Linked DNA regions of Homo sapiens: regions 1 and 2 are each linked to region 3. Evidence: promoter capture Hi-C in 16 types of primary human blood cells and fetal thymus (Javierre and others, 2016). All regions are on one chromosome and are shown on one strand. Each heading gives the region's core, a stretch centred on a gene start or on the middle of the fragment in contact. The rest is flanking DNA. Distances are from core to core; before and after follow the strand shown.

Evidence for each region. Contacts are between HindIII fragments. The CHiCAGO score rates a contact against its expected background, and 5 or more counts as called.
Region 1: a contact is called between a fragment that was not itself captured here and the fragment with the promoter of BNIP1 in region 3, in 2 of 17 cell types (monocytes and activated CD4 T cells). The highest score is 5.3, in monocytes.
Region 2: a fragment that was not itself captured here is called in contact with the fragment with the promoter of BNIP1 in region 3 in 9 of 17 cell types (naive CD4 T cells, naive CD8 T cells, M2 macrophages and 6 more); the score reaches 9.6 in naive CD4 T cells.

Annotation. Positions count from the first base shown.
Region 1 is chr5:173,014,414-173,018,255 of GRCh38, forward strand. All of the region lies in intron 2 of ATP6V0E1 (ATPase H+ transporting V0 subunit e1), which reads left to right. Among named protein-coding and RNA genes, the nearest start is that of SNORA74B, 4.4 kb to the right of the region's middle. RefSeq lists an enhancer at 3,038-3,581. The HindIII fragment of the contact is 1,434 bases long and covers 1,161-2,594 here.
Region 2 is chr5:172,994,372-172,998,511 of GRCh38, forward strand. ATP6V0E1 (ATPase H+ transporting V0 subunit e1) reads left to right here. Exons shown (of 4, transcript NM_003945.4): 2 at 404-451. Among named protein-coding and RNA genes, the nearest start is that of ATP6V0E1, 13 kb to the left of the region's middle. The HindIII fragment of the contact is 3,189 bases long and covers 670-3,858 here.
Region 3 is chr5:173,142,457-173,146,482 of GRCh38, forward strand. BNIP1 (BCL2 interacting protein 1) reads left to right here and starts at 2,075. Exons shown (of 6, transcript NM_001205.3): 1 at 2,075-2,173. The coding sequence starts at 2,090. RefSeq lists enhancers at 2,268-2,796, 2,738-2,807. The HindIII fragment of the contact is 7,780 bases long and covers 1-4,026 here.

The DNA.
Region 1 (3,842 bases), core at 628-3,127, 130 kb before region 3:
CTCTCGCATGTTGATCGCAGTGCTGTTCACAGTAGCAGAGACAGAGAATCAATCTAAGTGTCTGTCAACAGATGAACGCATGCAGAAAATGTGTTATATGTACACTACGGAATAGTATTCAGCCATAAAAAAAGAATGAAATCATGTCATTTGCAGCATCATGGGAGGAACTAGAGGCCATTATCTTAAGTGAAATAAGCCAAGTGCAGAAAGACAAATATCACATGTTCTCACTTATATGTGGGAGCTAAAAAATTTGATGTCAAAGACATGAAGAGTAGAATGATAGATATGAGAGACTGGGAAGGAAGGAAAGTTGTGGGAATAAAGAGTAGCACAATGGGTACAAACATGTGGGGTACCCGTAAAATGGGCACAAACATTAAACAGAGGAAATAAGTTTCTTCTATGTTTGATTGCAAAATAGGGTGACTATACTCAGCAACAGTACTTTGTGTATTTCATACTAACGGGAAGCGAGGACTTGAAATGATACCAACACAGAGAAATGGTAAATACGAAGAAAAAACAGTTTCTAAATACTGACCTGACCAAGAAAGGGGTCTTCATTCTTTCTTCTGGATATTCTTTAGTGAAGGCACCAAAGGCTTGTGTTGAACTTAATCAGTGCTCAGTGGATGGATTCTCATTTTCTGAATTCTCAATTTAGATTTAGCTAAATTAATGCCTTCTGAAATGTTCTCAGTTAAAATATTCCAGAAGGTCACTTTTTGAAGTGGGAACAGTAATCTGATCTGATTCCTGGTCTAGGATCTACTACTACCTAATTAGCATTGTGACCATAGGCCAATCACTTAGACTCTCTCTGCCTGTTTCCTAGTACAAGAATTAAATGAAAGGTTATATGTGAAATTGTGATATTGTGAAATACAAATTTAGTCTTTGTTCCCATTTCCTGGTATACAACTCCTAAAATCCTTAGAATCTCCAAAGTGACATGTGTCTTTGTATGCTAATGAGTTGACTGATGATTGGCAGCCCCTTGGTAGCTCCAGGATGGGATCTAATCACGAACCAAGGAAGGATTAGAGGGTTGGGACTTTCAGCCCCACAGCCCAACCATAGGGGAAGGGGGAGGGGCTGAACCTTAAACTGATCACCAATGGCCCGTGATGTAATCAATCATGCCTACACAATGAAGCTTCCATAAAAACCCAAAAGGATTGGGTTCTGAGAGGTTCAGGAAAGCTGGAAGCTATTCCTGGAGGCTGGTGTTCCCAGGAAGAGCATGAGAACTTTGTGCCCCTTTCCATAGCTCACCCTGTCCATCCCTTCATCAGTATCTTGTGTAGTATCTTTTGTTAGTTTGTTTGAGACAGTCTCACTCTGTCATCCAGGCTAAAGTGCAGTGGTGCGACCTTGGCTCACTGCAACCTCTGCCTCCCAGGTTCAAGTGATTCTCCTGCCTCACCCTCCCAAGTAGCTGGGACTACAGATGTGTGCCACCATGCCCAGCTGATTTTTGTATTTTTAGTAGAGACGGGTTTCACCATGTTGGCCAGGCTGATCTCGAACTCCTGGGCTCAAGTGATCCACCCGCCTTGGCCTCCCAGTGTCGAGATTACAGGCGTGAGCCACCATGCCCAGATTGTAGTATCTTTTATAGTAAACCAGAAAACGTGTTTCCCTGAGCTCCGCGAGCTGCTCTAGTAGATTAATTGAACCTAAGAAAGGTTAGAGCCTCCCCGATTTATAGCCAGTTGGTCAGAAGCACAGGTAGAACAACCTGGGGCTTGCGATTGGCATCAGAAGTGAGGGGCGGTCTTGTGGAACCAAGCCCTCACCCTGTGAGATCTGATGCTGATGCTACCTCCAGGCAGATAATGTCAGGATTGAATTGGAGGACACCCAGCTGGAGTCCGCTGCAGAATTGATTGTGTGCTTGTTGGTGGGGAGAAATCCCCACACATTTGGCTGTAGAAGTCTCTTCTGTGTTGATTATTGTGGTGTGAAAGCAGAGGAAAAGGAGTCAATGTTTTTTCCACTCTCAGAAATAGCATCAGTATATTTTAAAAGTTCCCTGAGTGATTATAATTTGCAGCTGGGGAGGAGAACCACTCCGCTACAACATCCTACAAAGTGCTGGGAAGTGGTGTTTTCATTCTGTGCTATATTCTTGGTAACAAAAGGAGATAGGGGCTAGTTTAAATTCTAATGGATTTTTTTAGTATTTCTAGGCATTGGCCAGTTGTCTCAGTCTCTTACGAAAGTGTTTTTTCAGGCAGCTTGTATTGCCTGCCGGGATTGGGGAAGTCCTTGGTTAGTTTGGAATTTTCCATGACTCTTAGCTCTGCACCATTAGCGTCAACTGCAGTCACAGAGCTTTTCAGTGTGTCCGCCTGTGCTGTTCTCTTCCTTTTTTTATAATGTCAGATGGATGATGTTGAACCTCAACTACAAGTCTTAGTATTGTGTTTGTGTTTAATACCCTACTTCTAAGGATGGATCAGAAAATCTCATCTGAATGAACTTTTTGTTTATTAAGTGAGTCAGCTTGAACTATCTGTTTTGGCCTGCTTTCCTCAGGTGTCATGTTTCCTGTCACAAAATCACCTTTTGTTTCTGTGGGCACAAGCTTCTGATATGGTGCTGGCTAATTCTCCAGCAATCTCTCCATTGGTGATCAGAATCAGCCTTTTGATCCTCTGATTGGAAAAGCTCTAAAAATGACAGTAAATGAAAGAAAAAAGATCCACCCGGATAATGGCCTAGTTGGGGCTTGGCTAGTTCCCCGCTTATAGGGAAATTTAAAGTCCTGAAAGCGTGAAAGGAGACTGCTGTAGTGATATATCCACTTACCCTTAGAAAGTGATTCCCTGCTGGGCGTGGTGGCTCACCCCTGTAATCCCAGCACTTTGGGAGGCCGAGGTGGGCGGATCACGTGAGATCAGGAGTGCGAGACCAGCCTTGCCAACATGGTGAAACCCCATCTTTACTAAAAATACAAAAATTAGCCGAGTGTGGTGGCAGGCGCCTGTAATCCCAACTACTCGGGAGGCTGAGGCGGGAGAATCGCTTGAACCCGGGAGGCAGAGGTTGCAGTGAGCCGAGATCGTGCCATCGCACTCCAGCCTGGGTGACGAGAGTGAGACTTCGTCTAAAAAAAAAAAAAAAAAAGCGATTCCTGGCCGGCTGCAGTGGCTCACGCCTGTAATCCCAGCACTTTGGGAGGCCAAGGTGGGCGGATCACAAGGTCAGGAGTTCGACACCAGCCTGGCCAACATAGTGAAACCTCTTCTCTACTAAAAATACAAAAATTAGCTGGGGATGGTGGCGCGTGCCTGTAATTCCAGCTACTCAGGAGGCTGAAGCAGGAGAATTGCTTGAACCCAGGAAGTGGAGGTTGTGGTGAGCTGAGATCGTGCCACTGCACTCCAGCCTGGACAACAGAACGAGACTCCTTCTCAAAAAAAAAAAAAAAAAAAAGAAAAGAAAAGAAAGGGATTCCCTAGATCCCAATGTACCATGCAGAAAGGATAGCAGTATGTTACCAAATTTCACTCTCCCAGATTGGTAGTTGGAGGTTGGTTGGGCTTGTTTACCTTAACCCTGCCCTCCTCCCCACACCACTGCCCACCAATGAAAGAAATTCAAATTCATACACAGTTGACCTTTGAATAACGTGGAAGTTAGAGGTTCCGATCCCCTGCACAGTTGAAAATCCATTTATAACTTTTGAATCCCCCCAGATTTAATTACTAATAGCCTACTGTTGATCAGGAGCTTTACCAATAACATAAACAGTCAATTAACACATAATTTGTATACGTATTATATCCCGTGTTCCTATAATAAAGGAAGGTAGAGAAAAGAAAATGTTA
Region 2 (4,140 bases), core at 1,014-3,513, 150 kb before region 3:
ATGAATGGAGATTGGGAGAGCTCATCGCTGGAGAGTCATATTTTTAGAAGTACAGTGTTAATTTCATTACAGAGAATACTACCAAATAGGGTAATTACTTAGTTGTCAAAACTAATTGTCACTGCGGCCTTTCCTGTTCAGTTTCAGATAAATTTGGATTGGACAGCTACACTGTGGCATCAGCACATATCTCTTTAAATACAAATGTTTAATTACATAAACTTTTCCCAGGTGTACCCTGGGCACACCGCAGTTTGCTGGATATTTGAGCAAATACAGATCCAATTTCTTGGTGTGCAATCCATGCCAGTTTGATAATCTGGAAAGGGGACTTAAACCATTCTGTGATGTTTGCATAGTTTGCTAGTTATTTAATGACATTTGCATTTTTTTTTTTTTTTAGAGTTATCATTACCATGTTGGTGACCTGTTCAGTTTGCTGCTATCTCTTGTAAGTAATTTTTTCTTAAGTAATTATTCTTGGTATTTGTAGTGTGTGCGATTTACACATTTGTTTTATTGGAGCTCATCCCTCATGTAATATCTAGAAATAGTGTCCTAAAATTGAAAATATCACACTTTTCATATGCTCAGTATATTTATGTAGAGTTGTACAGATACTCTATCCTTCTGGGAATACAACTTCTGTTTAATTGGCACAAATGTTAAAGCTTATAAGTAGCTGGAAATTATGATTATACTACTTTATATTTTACTATGGTGAAGTATTTACTTATTTATTTATCTTTTGAGACAAGGTCCCGCTCTGTCGCCCAGGCTGCAGTGCAGTGGTGTGATCTCAGCTCACTGCAACCTCGGCCTCCTGGGTTCAAGTGAGTCTCATGCCTCAGCTACCTAAATGGCTGGGGTTACAGGCACACGCCGCCATGCATGGCTAATTTTTGTATTTTTAGTGGAGACGGGTTTGCCATGTTGGCCAGGCTGGTCTCAAACTCCTGACCTCAAGTGATCCGCCTGCCTTAGCCTCCCAAAGTGCTGGGATTACAGGCATGAGCCACTGTGCCCGGTATACTATTGTGAAGTATTTAGATCTACTTATTTTACTGAAATATCTCACTAATGGAGCTAATAAAGCTATTCTTTACTGTGACTTTTGTTTATCTGATGGACAGAAATTGAGCTAGAATTATAACCAAGTAGACTAAGGATAATTTTTTAACAATTCATTGTAAGCTGTATCAAAATATATGTATTGATCACATACCATAAAAATAATCCTAAGGATTTCTTTCAATTTAGGTTTTTGAGACAGGGTCTTGCTCTGTCACCCAGGCTGGAATGGCTCAATCATAGCTCACTGCAGCCTCAAACTCTTAGGCTCAGGCGATCCTCCTGCCTCTGCCTCCCAAGTAGTTGGGACTATAGTCATGCGCCACCATGCTCAGCTAACTTTTTTATTTTTGTAGAGATGGAGTCTTACTGTGTTACCCAGGCTGGTCTTGAACTCCTGGCCTCAGTGATCCTTCCATCTTAAGCCTCCCAAAGTGCTAGGATTACAGGCATGAGTCACTACACCCAGCCAGGATTTCTTTCTAGAGTTTAGAACCAGTGATTCTCTTTTTTTGAAGAGAACTTTCTAGCTTCCTGAGACTTCAGAGACATGGAAAGTGTTGGTGTTCACAGAAGTGCTGTTTAGTGCCCATGTAAGGTAGGAAGCAACAGTTCTGACCCATCCTATAGATGAAAGACCATGACTTTTTTTTCCAGAAACATTTTAATAAAAATTGGCCATTTCCAAGAAACACCCACTGCATGCCCGTTAATAAAAGAGGACCATAACAAAATAGAAAATTTACCATATAGCTGTGATTTAAAATAGCTGTGATTTAAAGAGAAAATGTGGACACAAGCACATCAGCAAAGTCCAGTATTAAAGTCACATTCCGGCCAGGATCGGTGGCTCATGCCTGTAATCCCAGCACTTTGGGAGGCCGAGGCGGGTGGATCACCAGGTCAGGATATTGAGACCAGCCTGGCCAACATGGTGAAACCCATTCTCTATTAAAAATACAAAAAAAAATTAGCTGGGCTTGGTGGCGCACACCTGTAGTCCCAGCTGCTCGGGAGGCTGAGGCAGGAGAATCACTTGAACCCTGGAGGCAGAGGTTGCAGTGAGCCGAGATTGCACCACTGCACTCCAGCCTGGGCGACAGAGCGAGACTCCGCCTCAAAAAAAAAAAAAATACATACATACATACATACATACATAAAGTCACATTCCTTCTTATGGGCTATGATTAGGAATCTGATCAGATATCAGAGTAAAAATACAAATGCTGAACTATTTAGGTCAAAGAACCTCTATAGAAGCATCTGTCTTCAAAGGCATTCCAATTTGAGATCAATTTTAGAATAAGGCATAACACATATGTTAACAGAAGACATACAAGGTGATGAAAGAGGGATTCTACAATTCCCCACATACTCTGAACCTAATAAAACAAATCCAGATTTTTAAAAAATTACTTTTCTTTAAACAATTGCCAAGACTGAAATCAAAGAGAAATAGAAGGCACAACAATTTTGCTCTGGTTGTTATCTGGGTTTGGGGAATTTTTTCTTTTTTTTTTTTTCAAATACAAATTAAACATGAAAAAACTCTATTTCAAATAAACTAACAGTTCAAGAAAAGCCTATCAGTTGCATTCCAGACATTTAAAACCTATATCGCAGTTTAAATTTCAGTGGTAAAAACAGTAGGTTTTAGAATTGTTTTGTGATCCTATATCAAAAGAAAAATTCTATTCCTTTAATTCAGTTTTTAAACATACCAGTGAGAATCAAAATTGTCAAATTTTCCAATGACAAATTCTCCACACCAGAAGGTAGTCATGACTCTCAAAGAAGAAACAATTTGGGTTTTTCCTGCCTTCAAAATGTTATCAAGTCCTGTATTTCTCACAGGTTTTTGAAACACGTAGAAAACAAGAAATATTCCGATGAATGAAATATACCAAATGTCAGTAATATGCAAGACACATTCCTTTGGGGAAATGGCTGTTAAAAAAAAAATCCAGTCTGTATATGCAAAGTAAGCAAGGAAATTCAGTCTTTTTTTTTCTTCTTCTTCTTTAAAAATCTGTTACTCCTAAAATATCATTCCACAAAATTGGAAGTGAAAGACTAAAGGTCAGGGGCAAGGCGTGGTGGCTCACGCCTGTAATCCCAGCACTTTGGGAGGCCGAGGCGGGCGGATCACGAGGTCAGGAGATCGAGACCATCCTGGCTAACACAGTGAAACCCCGTCTCTACTAAAAATACAAAAAAAAATTTAGCCGAGCGTGGTGGTGGGTGCCTGTAGTCCCAGCTACTTGGGAGGTTGAGGCAGGAGAATGGCGTGAACCCCGGAGGCGGAGCTTGCAGTGAGCCGAGATTGCACCACTGCACTCCAGTCTGGGCGACAGAGCGAGACTCCGTCTCAAAAAAAAAAAAAAAAGTTCTAGGCCGGGCATGGTGGCTCACGCCTGTAATCCCACCACTTTGGGAAGCTGAGGCGGGCAGATCACTTGAGCCCGGGAGTTCAAGACCAGCCTGAGCAACATGTTGAAACCCTTTCTCTACAAAAAATTATCCGATTGTGGTGGCACATGCCTGTCGTCCCAGCTACCGGGAAGGTGGAGGTGTGAGGATCACCTGAGCCCGGGGAAGTCAAGGCTACAGTGAGCTGTCATTGCGGCAGTGCATTCCAGCCTGGGGGTCCAAGTGATACCCTGTCTCAAAAAAAAAAAAGTTGTGATAAATGATGTTGTTTGACTGTTTAAACACTAAGGCCCAGCTGATGAAACTTAAAATTTAGTCTTTTTTTTTTTTTTTTTTTTTGGTTAGAGTGTTAAAAGAAGCTTGTTCAGGTGATAACTTAGCCTCCAGAGTGGAACACAGGTTGCATGTGGAGGGAATTCTTATCACTGTGTTTGGCTGTAAAGAGTATATGAAGCCTGGTGTGGTGGCTCACGCCTGTAATCCCAGCACTCTGGGAGGCCAAGGCGGGAAGATCACCTGAGGTTACAAGTTCAAGGCCAACCTAGCCAACATGGTGAAACCCCATCAATACTAAAAAAAATTTTTAAAATTAGCTGCGCGTGATGGTACGCACCTGTAGTCCCAGCTACTTGGGAGGCT
Region 3 (4,026 bases), core at 825-3,324:
AGTAGAATAACAGCAGCTAACGGGCATTGAGATCTTACTATATGCCACATTAGCACACTGTGCTTGGTGCTTTTCATGTATTTTCTCATTTAATTCTCCAACCTGTGAAGTAGGCGCAATTGATTATCACCAGTTAGCTTCCGAGGAGACAGAGGCACAGGCATGCGAAGTGTGTGGTGGACAGGATTTGAGCCCAGGCAGATGCCAAGCCTGTGATACACTGCCTCTCTATTAGGTGCAGTGGGGTGATGAATACCTTACGAGAGGGTGTGTAGAGGGCTGTAGGGACACAGACAAGCACATAGCCCCGCTTACAACAGGTGGGGACCATATTGATTTTTTGGGGAAAAGATGGCTTTCAGTAGAGGCTGTGCCACTTTCTTTCTTTCTTTTTTCTTTTTTTTTTTTTTTTTTTGAGATGGAGTCTTGCTCTGTCGCCCAGGCTGGAGTAGTACAGTGGGGCGATCTCGGCTCACTGCAAGCTCCACCTCCTGGGTTCACATCATTCTCCTGCCTCAGCCTCCCAAGTAGCGGGGACTACAGGCGTCCGCCACCACGCCCGGCTAATTTTTATATTTTTAGTAGAGACGGGGTTTCACCGTGTTAGCCAGGATGATCTCGATCTCTTGACCTCGTGATCCACCCGCCTCGGCCTCCCAAAGTGCTGGGATTACAGGCATGAGCCACCGTGCCCGGCCTAGGCTTTGCCACTTTCAAGATAGGTAATCTTGCAACAGGGTTGATTGTTTTTTGTTTTAATTTACTCTAAGCCCTACTCCTGATCTGTGATAATAGTGTAGTACAATTTCAAGGGTGGTTGTGAGGATTAAGAGAGATGAACATGGTCGGGCACAGTGGCTCACGCCTGTAATCCCAGCACTTTGGGAGGCCGAGGCGGGTGGATCACGAGGTCAGTTCGAGACCAACCTGACCAATATGGTGAACCCCGTGTCTATGAAAAATACAAAAATTAGCTGGGCATGGTGGCACGCACCTGTAATCCCAGCTACTCAGGAGGCTGAGGCAGGAGAATTGCTTGAACCTGGGAGGTAGAGTTTGCAGTGAGCCAAGATTGTGCCATTGCACTCCAGCCTGGGCAACAGAGCGAGACTCCGCCACAAAAAAAAAAAAAAAAAAAGAGAGAGAGATGAACATTCAAGTCCTAAGCCTTTAGGTCCTCACAATCTATGCTTGCTGAAGTGACCCGAACAAATGCAGATGGAGTGGGGTCGAGTGGGGGAAACGCTTTCTAGGGAGAGGGAACACCACATTCTAAGGCTACACATCCAGAAGGAGCTTGAGCAATCCAGGAAGGGCGCAGGGTGCGGTGGCTGATGGCCGGGGTGGCTGATGGCCTTGAGGACCAGCTAAGAAACTTGGATTATTTACTAACAAAAATAAAAGAGCCACCATTTGTTGAGGGTTTGCTCTGACATTTCCATCAAAACTACCTTAGCAAGGTAGATTTAATAAATCCAGTTGTATACAAAAGGGAAACACGAGAAGCCATAGAAGGGCTGCATACAGGTAGGTGACTTGATCAATTTCGTGTTTTACAAAGATCCCTTAGATCATGTGTTGGAGTGATAGGAGGTACTCTACCGACCTGCCTTGAACTCCATACTTTAAAAAATATATGACGTTTATCATTTCCTCTTTTACTCCACAATTTATACTCACTGTAGAAAATATTAAAAATATAAGAAAGTTTGAAGAAACAAAAAATTATTACTGGTACTTTCCAGAGACATCTCAATTGATACTTTTCTTCCAGTCTTTTTTTTTCTATGTAAAAAATATATAGTTATTAGAATGCCTGACAGAAGGAAGATGGAAAGAGACCACTGTGAAGCGTTCTTGATATTCCCTCTTCCCTTCCTCTCCATGTTATTAGGGCCATACCAAGAGGAGAGGCTGATTTCCCTACACGTGTCAGGGAAAGTCCCAACTCTGCGCAGTGACCCTCGCTTGCCATTTTCGCCGGTCTCTAGGGGGCGCTGCCCCGAGACTGGGTGGGGAGGGAAAGAAGGTGGTGCGAAAACGCGTTTGAACTTGGGTCCTGCCGCTGCCCGTAGCCGGCGTCCCCAACATGGCGGCTCCCCAAGACGTCCACGTCCGGATCTGTAACCAAGAGATTGTCAAATTTGACCTGGAGGTGAAGGCGCTTATTCAGGTACTGATCCCGGGACCCCTGCCGGGCTCCAGCAGCCCTAACCCAAGCTCTGCTGGTCTGTGAGCTTGGCAGTGTCACTCCCGAACTTTCCCCACTTGGTTTCCCAGACCACAGGCTCCGCCCCATGGTCGGCTACCCCCCCGGTCCCCATTTGGTTGTGTCCCGGTGACTGCTGGCCTTGATCCTTTTTCCGGGTGCCGCCGGATCTCCCATCCCCAGAGCACCCCACTGTTCTCCGCCCCTGACTCAGCTACTGCTTCGGGGCTCGGCTTTGCCCCTTCCACCTGCAGCCCTGGTCGTCGCCCCGCCCCTGACTACCTCACAACCTACCTGTCACCCTGCTTGGCCCCGCCCTCTGACGCTGCTTCAGCATCCTCTGGTAGCGTCCGGGAGGCAGCTAGCCCCGCCCCCTGCTGGCCAGCTCTCCTGGCATCCAAGGCCACCTGGCACGGGAGGCACCGGGTGAAACGAATGTAACCTGGACCGTAGTTGTGATTTTATGCTTGAGGAAATCGAGTACGGCGCCAAGGCCTAGGTTAGAAGGCATACCTGGGTCAGTGGCAAAACTGGGACCTGGACTGTGAAAGTCAACCTAGGAATAACACCTTAGAGTGTTACCCCGTTTGAACAGATAGGAAATGAAGTGTTTCGCCTTAAGCCATTTAAGGGTAGAGGTAAAATAAACGAGTGGACTTAGGCAAGAATTGGGAGTGTAGACACGGTTCCATGAGTTCAGCAAAAAGAAACCGAGTTTTAAACCTTGTTTTTGCTTGTTTGTTTTTGTTTTTTTGAGACGGAGTCTCGCTCTGTCGCCCAGGCTGGAGTGCAGTGGCGCGATCTCGACTCGCGGCAAGCTCCGCCTCCCGGGTTCCCGCCATTCTCCTGCCTCAGCCTCCTGAGTAGCTGGGACTACAGGCACCCGCCACCACGCCCGGCTAATTTTTGTGTTTTGCTTAGTAGAGACGGGGTTTCACCGTGTTAGCCAGGATGGTCTCGATCTCCTGACCTCGTGATCCGCCCGCCTCGGCCTCCCAAATTGCTGGGATTACAGGCGTGAGCCACCGCGCCCGGCCTAAACCTTGGTTTTTAAAAATAATCATTTTCAACAAAGTCACTAAACATTAGATGTAGACTCAGAGTTTGTAACAAGGTGTGGCAAAAAGTGCAGGAAAATAGGGCTCCCCAGATAAACCAGATGCAGAATAAACCAAATTAGATGCAGAATAAACAAATACGGTGCAAAGAAGTGTGATTAAATGAATAAGCCAGAGAAAAAGTGAAATTTGATGCAGATATTTAAAACTTCTTGAACTTCACTTCTCTGATGTATACATTACAAAACTTCTGGGCCAATTATAGAAAAATAAACAGGTTTCATACAAATGAAATTACATTTTCACATAATCTAAATTGCTTAGGCATTCTTCTGTACTCTTTCTAACATTTGGGTTCTTGTCATTGCTGATGAGAAAGACTGATTATAGCTGGATGTATTGCGTTCTTACCGTTTTCCAGCAGCTCTGCTAAGTGCTTTACATACATACATAATCTATGATGTTCTATGAGGTAAGTAGTGTTGTGATAAGGAAACTCAGACACAGAGAATTTAAATAACTTTCCAGGTAACTTTACACAGCTCATAAGTTGCTACAGCCAGGATTCGAATCCACCTGGTCTGTCTCCAGAGCCTGCCGTGAAAGCTGGCACCAGTAATTCTGAATGTCCAGCAACAGATTCTAAATCTGCCCTTAAACATGTCTATATAAACACTCTAACTTATCACTAATGGTTTGTAAAATCACACTGGAGAAGTTAATCTCATCATATGATGCCAGATATTTAAACATCCTGAT